Regions from separate parts of the Homo sapiens genome. Here region 2 is linked to region 1. Evidence: promoter capture Hi-C in 16 types of primary human blood cells and fetal thymus (Javierre and others, 2016). All regions are on one chromosome and are shown on one strand. The core of a region is centred on a gene start or on the middle of the fragment in contact, and the rest is flanking DNA. Distances in the headings are between cores, read along the strand shown. Region 1 holds the start of TPCN2 (two pore segment channel 2). Region 2 has its middle 20 kb from the start of CCND1.

Region 1 (4,806 bases), core at 778-3,277:
TGCCAAGGTTAAGGAGTGCCTGGGAGGCAGGTCTATGCCTTCCTTCAAGGATGATTTGTAGGACTTCAATATTTAAAGGGGAAACTGGCCAGGTGCTGTGGCGGAGGTTGCTGAGTGACCTGAGATCGCACCACTGCACTCTAGCCTGGGCAACGAAGCAAGACTCTGTCTCAAAAAAAAAAAAAAAAAAAAAAAAGGGAAAGGGTGGATATTGGGAAAGAGGGAGAAATTTTAAAAATATGTGGAGAGATAAGAGACAAAGGTTGCATTCTTGTGAGTCTTTGATCAGACTTTCACTGAAATACACAATTTACAGGTTGCGGGGGTAGAGGAATAGTCACTTATGCCTTAGTCTGGCTCGGTGAATCTGCACTTTTATACCAGAGGAAGCAATCAGGTGAGCAGAGGGATGACTTAGAGTTCCATCCTTTGTTTGGAACCTGTGAAGATCAGTTGTCAATGTACATTGTTAGGGTAAAATTCAACAAAACTGTTTTAGGGTAAAGATCTTGGGTGCCCACGAAAAATTTCCTAGCGGGCAAATTGTGAGGGAGGTATGTAGCTTTTTAAATCTTCGTAGCTATTTTATTAAAGAAGAAAAGGCGAGGCAGTTTGCCCAACGCAGTTCCCAGCTTGACTTTTCCCTTTGGCTTAGTGATTTTGGAGTCCTGAGATTTATTTTCCTTTCACAGTTATGATGGTAAATTTTATATTTATTTTAAACCCTCCCCCCTCCCCAAAAGAGGGGGAAAAAGTAAAGAGGTATGGCAGAAGGGGAAGTCACAGAGATTGGAAGCGTCTTGCAGCACCTTTTTTTTTGAGATGGAGTCTCGCTCTGTTGCCAGGCTGGAGTGCAGTGGCGCAATCTCAGCTCACTGCAATTTCCGCCTCCCGGGTTCAAGCGATTCCCCTGCCTCAGCCTCCGAGTAGCTGGGACTATAGACACGTGCCACCACGTCTGGCTAACTTTTTGTATTTCAGTAGAGACGGGGCTTCACCATGTTGGCCAGGATGGTCTCGATCTCCTGACCTCGTGATCCACCTGCCTCGGTCTCCCAAAGGGCTGGGATTACAGGCGTCTTGCTGCATCTCGAAGCGTCTTCAGCGTGCTCTTGCTTGCTGGCTCTGATGATGGAGGTGTTCAAGCCATCGTGGAAGGAATGCAGTGGCCTCTAGGAGTGAGAATGACACCAGCCAACATCCAGCAAGAAGACGTGGACTTCAGTCCTAGGCCCATGGAGACAATTCTGTTAACATCCTGGATGAGCCTGGAAGTGGGCTTTCCCCAGAGTCTGCAGATAAGAGCCCACGGCAGCTGACATTTTGACTCTAGCCTCGTGAGGCCCTGAGACAGGAGGTTTCCTGCCCCGCAGGACTGAAAGATGATGAATGGGAGTTATTTTATATTTTCAGATTGTGGTAATTAGTCACTGTAGCAATAGAAAACGAATACAAGGTCTTTATGCATTAATGTTGAAAACACTTTTTATATACGTTGTAAATATTTTTTAAGTGTGTCATATGTTTTTAAACTTTTCCCTTAATGATATTGAATCCTCCTAATTTCACCATCAGAGGGTAAACTCCAGTTCCATTCTGGGGGGAGTCCTTTGCAGTCACCCCGTGTACTCAATACTCACATGCATCAGAATCACCCCGAATGCTTGTTAAAACACAGATTCCTGGGTCCTCCCCGCAGAGTTGCTGATTTAGTAGGTTTAAGGGCCCAAGAATTTGCATTTCTAAAATGTTTCCAGGTGATGCTGAAGCTTCTGGCCGGAAAGACATCCTTTGAGAACATATTTCCTCCCCAGCCCTCGGCCCTTAAGCCCCAGAACGCTGCCCCGCCCTGGGTGGAACGAAGCTGAGCTCCACCCTAGAGGGGCGGGGCCCTTTAGCTCCGCCCCACTCAGGAGAACCCCACCCCTCCCTCCCCGTTCTCATTGGCTGGGACTGCAGGGATCCCCTGCGCCACAGTGCCGTGCGCGCGTCAGCAAAAACGCCAGGGACGGGGTCTCCGCGCCTGCGCAGTGAAGCTGGGCGCCTTCGGGGCTTGAGCTTCTGAGGGTCGGGTCCAGCGCGTGGGCTGCTGGATGGCGGAACCCCAGGCGGAGTCGGAGCCCCTGCTGGGCGGGGCCCGCGGCGGTGGCGGCGACTGGCCGGCGGGGCTGACCACTTACCGCAGCATCCAAGTCGGCCCTGGTGAGCCGCCCGGACCTGGGGAGGGGACTGGCCCGGGAGACCAGGGTCGCGCGTGGGGGTCCCGCTGTCCCAGCACCCCGCTTTCTGCCGGGCGCGCCCCCACCAGGTTCGAGTCCGAGCGGGGCCCGGGCCGCGCCGGGTGCCAGGCGAGCCGGTGTTCTGAGGGCGAGTGGGCTGCGTCCTGCGGACCCGGACCGGGGTCAGGGCAGAGCTGGGGTCTCTTCCGTGTCGCGTCCTGATCCCGACCAGCTGGGCGAAGAGGCCCTCGCCCAGCCTTGGGCAGCCCCGAGGGAACCGGCCACCTGCGGCAGGCACCCTCCGTGTGCCCGGGCGGGCCCAGACCCCATACTTCCCGACTGTCGCCGTAATGAGGGTCGCCTAATTGACTCAGAGAAGGCAGCACTTTGATTTTTCCCGTTTCTTCTGGAAAAAGCAGAGGCTCACAGAGAGGCGTTACCCTACCCAAGGTCACACACCCAGTAAGTGGCCGAGGTGGGATTCGAACCAGTTGGGAGCTAGGAGTCCTTTCTTTGTAGGGTGCCTTTCCCCGTCCCACTTCCCGTGGGGCTGGGGCGGGCCCCCTAGACGGGGGCGGCTTCCTCTCCTTGCCCTCTGCCACCCCAGAGTCCCCTCTGCACTCCCTCCTGCCCTTCCCGTTTTTTGTCCTGGTCTGAAGATTGCTGAATCCGCCCCCCGAGGGTGGGGTGCGTCCGCCCCTCGCTGACACCAGGGGAATGAGATTCTGGATTAAGAGGTGGAAGGACCTTAGCTTCACTTCACAGATGAGGAAACTGAGGCCCAGAGAGGCCCTGAGACCTGCCCAAGGTCACAGCCCTCTGTTCTGGTGCGGCTGCTGCTCGAACCACTCTGAGAATTCACACCTGGCTCCTTCCCTCTCTGGCCTCTCTTTCCTTCTTTCCTCCTCTGTCTGGAAGGAACTGGGTTGGAATCCTGGTGCCCACCCACTGGTCTGTGGCATGTGCCCATCCATGGAGTAATGAGGGGCCAAGGAGGGGACCCTGACGAGAGATGAAAAACCAGAGGCCAAGGTGGCCACCCTGTCTGCTCACCTCAGAAGCTGCCTCCAGGAAGTTCTTCAGGTGCTTCCTGGGACCAGTCAGGAAGGAGATCTGCAGGGAGCAGCTCTGGCAGGCCCCTTGATGAGACGCCCAGCATATGGCACCGTTCAGGGAACACAGACTTTGTGTCTAGGGGTCTGGGCGCCTTTCTGGGGCTGCACTGGCTGTGTGACCTTGGCAGGTTGCTTAACCTTTCTGTTTCTTTTTTGAGATGGAGTATCACTCTGTCACCCAGGCTGGAGTGCAGTGGCGTGATCTCGGCTCACTGCAGCCTCTACCTCTGCTGGGTTGAAGCGATTCTCCCGCCTCAGCCTCCCAAGTAGCTGGGACTGCAGGCGCCCGCCACCACACTTGGCTAATTTTTGTATTTTTAGTAGAGATGGGGTTTCACTGTGTTGGCCAGGGTGGTCTCAAACTCCTGACCTCGGGTGATCTGCCTGCCTCGGCCTCCCAAAGTGGTGGGATTACAGGCGTGAGCCACTGTGCCTGGCCATGCTTCACCTTTCCGAATCTCAGTAAAAGGGAGATAATACTAAGGACTGCCTGGCGGGCATTGTGAGGATTCAGAGAGAATCCAGAGTTTGTCCTCAGCACAGGGCCCGGCGGGCTGGTGTGGGGGCCAGTGGCCGTCCTGGGTAAGCTCTGTGATCATTGCAGGTCCTCCCTGGCAGGTGAGACCCGCTCTGCTGGGCAGTGTGGCTGACAAGAGGAGGCTCTCGGGGAGCGCTCTTTGTCCCTATGCTGTGGCCTCAGCCAGGGCTTCTGAGAACGTGGACAGGACGCTCTGTGTTCTGAATCCCCTTGGCCAGGGTCCCCAGCAAGGACTGGCAGACTATGGAGCCATGGAGACTCCGAAAGGCTCATTCAGTCTCTGTGCTGAGGCCTGTGCCAGGCTTTGAAATGAAGGCCCTGTGCTCTGGTTTGCAAGTCCTGTGGTTGGTCTCTTGCCAACGGGTTGTGGTGAGGGCTGCTGCTGTGGGTGCCCCAAGGACCCCAGTGGACCCTGCTGTTGGGTCGTTTTGACTTGGCCCCACCTGATGGGGCCGGGGTCAAAGGTTGAGAACAGTTGTTTTCTCTTGTTGCTGGGTCAGAAAAATCACACTTTTACTGGTTATCAAACAAGTCAGAGGACAAGGGATTGCGATGCTGTAGAGGCTTTCAGAGTAACTGAATGCTTATGAAGGGCTCACTTAGCAAAGTACTCTGGCTATAGTAAGTCATTCAGTCTGTACTTAGCTCCTATTGGGTGGGGGTCCATGAGGACCTGGAGCACCTAGAGGTTAAGGGACTTGCCCAGGGTCACAGAGGATGATGGTCAGGACCCTACACAGGTTGTGCAGCCTGGAGCCTGGAGCAACAGGGGAGCGGGAGCTCAGACCTGGATGTTGCGGGGCAGAGGCTTGGATTAGGAAGCCGTGTCGAGGCCTGGTGTGCCGGATGCAGCATCTCAGCCCCTGCTGTCCTCTGTGCCTTGCAGAACCCTTCAGCCCCAGTGGGTGATGGTGTGTGGAAAGGTGATTGTCCC
Region 2 (4,806 bases), core at 717-3,216, 570 kb after region 1:
TGGTCAGTATCGAGATGGGACTTAAATCCCTGAGCTGAATGAGATCACTGAGGGAATGCATGTCCACAGAAGAAAGGCCAGGTTCAAGGACAATCCTGGGATTCCAGAAAGTTAGCATCATCTGGGTCACACAAGCATTTGGTAAGTTACATGGTTCCACGGTGGGAGAGAGGACGCTGGTCTTTGGTCCATCTGGGCTGCCCAGGAGTGGCTCTCGTTGGCCACGTGAAGGTGGGCTCCATCCTGCTATGCCAGGATGCACAGGGATCCTAAGAAGTGAGCCCCACCCCAAAACTGTCTCCTTCTCTCTCCCCTACTTCTCAGAGACCTGCTACTTTCCTGGGTGCTCTGGAGGAACACCGCAAGGGTCTTTCCCACTCTTGGAATGTCCCCTCTTTTAAATAGAGCCTCCATCTTGTCTGCCAGGTCTGGCCACATTTAGTTAGGCCACTCCTTCCCAGGCCCTGTTGCAAACCCTAGAGCTTCCTCTAACCCTTGAGAAATTTCAACCCTTTTCTAAAAGTGGAGTGTCTGTTTTGTTTGTTTGTTTGTTTGTTTGAGACACAGTCTCGCTTTGTCACCAGGCTGGAGTACAGTGGCATGATCTCGGCTCACTGCAACCTCCGCCTCCCAAGTTCAAGAGATTCTCCTGCCTCAGCCTCCCAAGTAGCTGGGACTACAGGTGAGCACCACCACGTCCGGCTAATTTTTGTATTTTTAGTAGAGACGGGGTTTCACCATGTTGGCCAAGATGGTCTCAATCTCTTGACCTCATGATCCGCCCACATCAGCCTCCCAAAGTGCTGGGATTATAGGTGTGAGCCACCACGCCCAGCCAAGAAAAGTGTCTTAACCCTTCCCTGGGGCCAGAGCAGCTTGGTCCTCTTATCTCTCTTATCTCAAGGTATCACTTGCCCTCTGGAAGGAGAAGTAGGAAACAGAAAAAAAAAAAAATAGCTCTCGTTTTCTTTGGATTCTTCTAGAACAGCAAAGAACACAGAATATTATCACAGTATATTAACCTTCTACACATGTTTATCAACTTAGTTCAAACCATGAAAAATTAGTATCCTTCAAGGAACAAATAATCCTTCCACTAAATCAACTATTAGAAATATATATAAAATGGGGGACACAATGGGAGTATGACACGATTAGAGTTTTGAATCAAACTAAGAACAGCGAAGCTTTAAAGATTAGTCATGAACATGGACCTTGGCTATCCTAACACAAATAAGAAAACTAGCCAAATCCAGAGAAGTCTGGGGTTTAATGAACAGTGCATTAGTCCATTCTCACACTGCTATGAAGAAATACCAAAGAGTGGGTCATTTATAAAGAAAAGAGGTTTAATTGACTCACAGTTCTGCATGGCTGGGGAGGCCTAAGGAAACTTACAATCATGGCAAAAGAAACCTCTTCACAGGGCAGCAGGAGAGAGAATGAGTGCTGAGTGGAAGAAGAAATCCCTGATAAAACCATCAGATCTCACAAGAAGTCACTCGCTCTCATGAGAACAGCATGGTGGAAACCACCTCTATGATCCAATTATCTCCACCTGGCCCCACCCTTGACATGTGGAGATTATTACAATTCAAGGTGAGAGTTGGGTGGGGGCACAGAGCTAAACTATATCAAACAGTAATATATCAGTGTTGGTTTCTTAGCTTTGGCAAATGTACTGTGGTTATGTGAGATGTTAACAATAGGAGAAACCAGGTGAGAGGTATATGGGAACTCTGTACTATCAAAAATTATTCCAGAATTGGCTGGGCATGGCGGCTCACACCTGTAATCCCAGCACTTTCAGAGGCCGAGGCGGGCAGATCACCTGAGGTCAGGAGTTCAAGACCAGCCTGACCAACATGGTGAAACCTCGTCTCTACTAAAAATACAAAAATTAGCTGGGTGCAGTGGCACATGCCTGTAATCCCAGTTAGTTGGGAGGCTGAGGCAGGATACTCTCTTGAACCTGGGAGGTGGAGGTTGCAGTGAGCCGAGATCACACCATTGCACCCTAGCCTGGGCCCTGGGCGACAAGCGAGATTCTGTCTCAAAAAAATAAAAATTATTTCAGAATAAAAGGTTTATCTTAAAATTCCAAATACAAGCAGAGACTCTTGCCAGTTAAAAAAAAAAAAAAAAGGGTCTATAGCAACCAAGAAGAGTTTATCCCAAGACTATATCGGTGGCATTCAAGCAGGAAAATGATTTACATGATTTATCATATTAGCATGAGAAATAGCAAGGTCCATTTAATTATCTCAATAAATATCAAGGAGGCATTTGAAAAAAAGTCACTACAAATTTGTGGGACAGGTTTTATTCTAAATATGATAAAGATTATGGAATTTTATTTTTTATTTTTTGAGACAGGGTCTTGCTCTGTCACTCAGGCTGGAGTGCAGTGGCACAATCTTGGCTCACTGCAGCCTCTACCTCCCCAGGCTCAGGCAATCTTCCCACCTCAAGTCTCATGAGTAGCTGGGACTACAGGTGCACTCTACCACAGTCGGCTAAGTGTTTGCATTTTGTGTAGAGACAGGTTTTTGCCATGTTGCCCAAGCTGTTCTTAAACTCCTGGGCTTAAGCAATCCTCCCTCCTCAGCCTGCTAAAATGCTGAGATTACAGGCATGAGCCACTGCACCTGGCCAAGATTATGGATTTAAAACCAAAAGCCACCAGGCACAGTGGTGTGTGCCTGTAGTCCCAGCTACTCAGAAGGCTGAGGCAGGGAGATGAACTAAGCTTAGGAATTCAAGGCTGCACAGTGAGCTATGATCATGCATGTAGACAGCTACTGCAGTCCAGCCTGGGCAGCATAGCAAAACCCTAGCTCTTTAAAAAAAAAAAAAAAGGCCAATTATTGCTTAAGGAATAGAAAGTCATTAGCACTAAAAATCTGGACATGCTCTCGCTTGTCTGGTTACCACTCCTATTTTAATATAAAACTAAATTAAAACTAGAAACACTGGCAAAAGCTATCAATAAGAAAAAGAAATAACATGTAAATATAAGAATAGAAGACATTAAAATGTGAATTGTCTTTTAGCCATGATTATAAACCTAGGAAAGCAACCAAAAGTACCAGTAAATTACTTCCAGAAGATACATAAGAAGACATTTAATCAAGTGCATCTTACATGAATATAATGCAACTAGAAAATGCATGTAAAATAAAAGAGAATTCAAGAGCAATTTAAAAATCAAATAATTGTATATCCATTTAATTGGCGACATAAGATGCTTACCCAAAGGGCATTGTGAGACCCTAATAGGAGAAATAAAGGAAGATAAATAAAAAACAGAATTTTTCCCGCTCCTGTTAGGAAGAAGCAGCATAATAAAGATGAAAAATTTATCCCTGCCAGCTGGCAAGAGACAACTCTTAAATATTCAGAAAATTTGCCAGCCATTTGTTAAGTCATGTATAGCTTGAAAGTGGCCACAGTGGCCAGGCACAGTGGCTCACGCCTGTAATCCCAGCACTTTGGGAGGCCGAGGCGGGCAGATCACGAGGTCAAGAGATGGAGACCATCCTGGCCAACATGGTGAAACTCTGTCTCTACTAAGGTACAAAAATTAGCTGGGCGTGGTGGCGTGTGCCTGTAGTCCCAGCTACTTGGGAGACTGAGGCAGGAGAATCCCTTGAACCCGGAAGGTGGAGGTTGCAGTGAGCCCAGATTGCGCCACTGCACTCCAGCCTGGCAGCAGAGCGAGACTCCATAAAAAAGAAAGGGAAGGAAGGAAGGAAGGAGGGAGGGAGGGAGGGAGGGAGGGAGGAAGGAAGGAAGGAAGGACGGAAGGAAGGAAGGAAGGAAGGAAGGAAGGAAGGAAGGAAGGAAGGAAGGAAGGAAGGAAAGTGGCCACAGTGTGGGTATTTCCATCAAGCAGTCAACAAATGCACCAATCAGGGCTTTTCTTTCCAGAGAGCTGTTTTTCCTACACACCATTTAGTAAAGGCCAAATGATTTTTCACTGTTACTTTTAGGAATGTAATGAATTGATTGAGAAATCCCCAAATTCCTCTTTTTATTTACTCATTTACTTATTTAGGTTTTGAGACAAGGTCCCACTCTGTCGCCCAGGCAGGAGTGCAGTGGCATGATCATGGCTCACCTCCAACGCTCAAGTGATCCTCCTACTCTCAGCCTCCCGAGTGACTGGGACCACAGGCACGCACCACTATGCCTGGCTAATTTTTTGACTTTTTGTAGAGACAAGGTCTCACCATGTTGCCCGGGCTGGTCTCAAACTCCTGGGCTCAAGTGATCCTCCCACCTCAGCCTCCCAAAGCGCTGGGATCACAGATGTGAGCCACAGCGCCCGGCCCACTATATTATTTTACATTTTTACTTAAAATTGTTCTAGCTTTATTGAGGTATCATTGACATGAAGCTAATTAACATATCCATCCCCTCACAGAGTTAACCATTTTGTCTTTTGCGGTGAGAACATTTAAGATCTCTCTTAGCAATTGTCAAGTATGTGATACATTATTACTAACTCTAGTCACCATGTGGTACAAGAGAGATCCAGAATTTACTCATCCTGGGGAAAAAATTTAATTTGTTATATTTAAACATTGAGAGAAGTCTGAAAAGATCTACAAAAAATATTACCGATACTGTCTGAGTAGCGAGATTTCAGGTGCTTTTTTCCATTTATTTATTTATTTATTTATTTATTTATTTATTTATTTATTCATTTATTCATTTTTGAGACAGAGTCTCGCTCTTGTCACCCAGGCTGGAATGCAATGACATGATCTTGGCTCACTGCAACCTCTGCCTTCTGGGCTCCAG

Evidence for each region. The method cuts DNA at HindIII sites, captures the fragments that hold promoters and counts their contacts. A CHiCAGO score of 5 or more calls a contact.
Region 2: a fragment that was not itself captured here is called in contact with the fragment with the promoter of TPCN2 in region 1 in 1 of 17 cell types (activated CD4 T cells); the score reaches 5.5 in activated CD4 T cells.

The regions. Positions count from the first base shown.
Region 1 is chr11:69,046,905-69,051,710 of GRCh38, forward strand. TPCN2 (two pore segment channel 2) reads left to right here and starts at 2,028. Exons shown (of 25, transcript NM_139075.4): 1 at 2,028-2,202. The coding sequence starts at 2,094. RefSeq lists silencers at 1,766-1,985, 2,106-2,275, 2,356-2,455 and an enhancer at 4,432-4,806. The HindIII fragment of the contact is 3,554 bases long and covers 1,768-4,806 here.
Region 2 is chr11:69,618,353-69,623,158 of GRCh38, forward strand. No RefSeq gene overlaps it. Among named protein-coding and RNA genes, the nearest start is that of CCND1, 20 kb to the right of the region's middle. The HindIII fragment of the contact is 1,562 bases long and covers 1,186-2,747 here.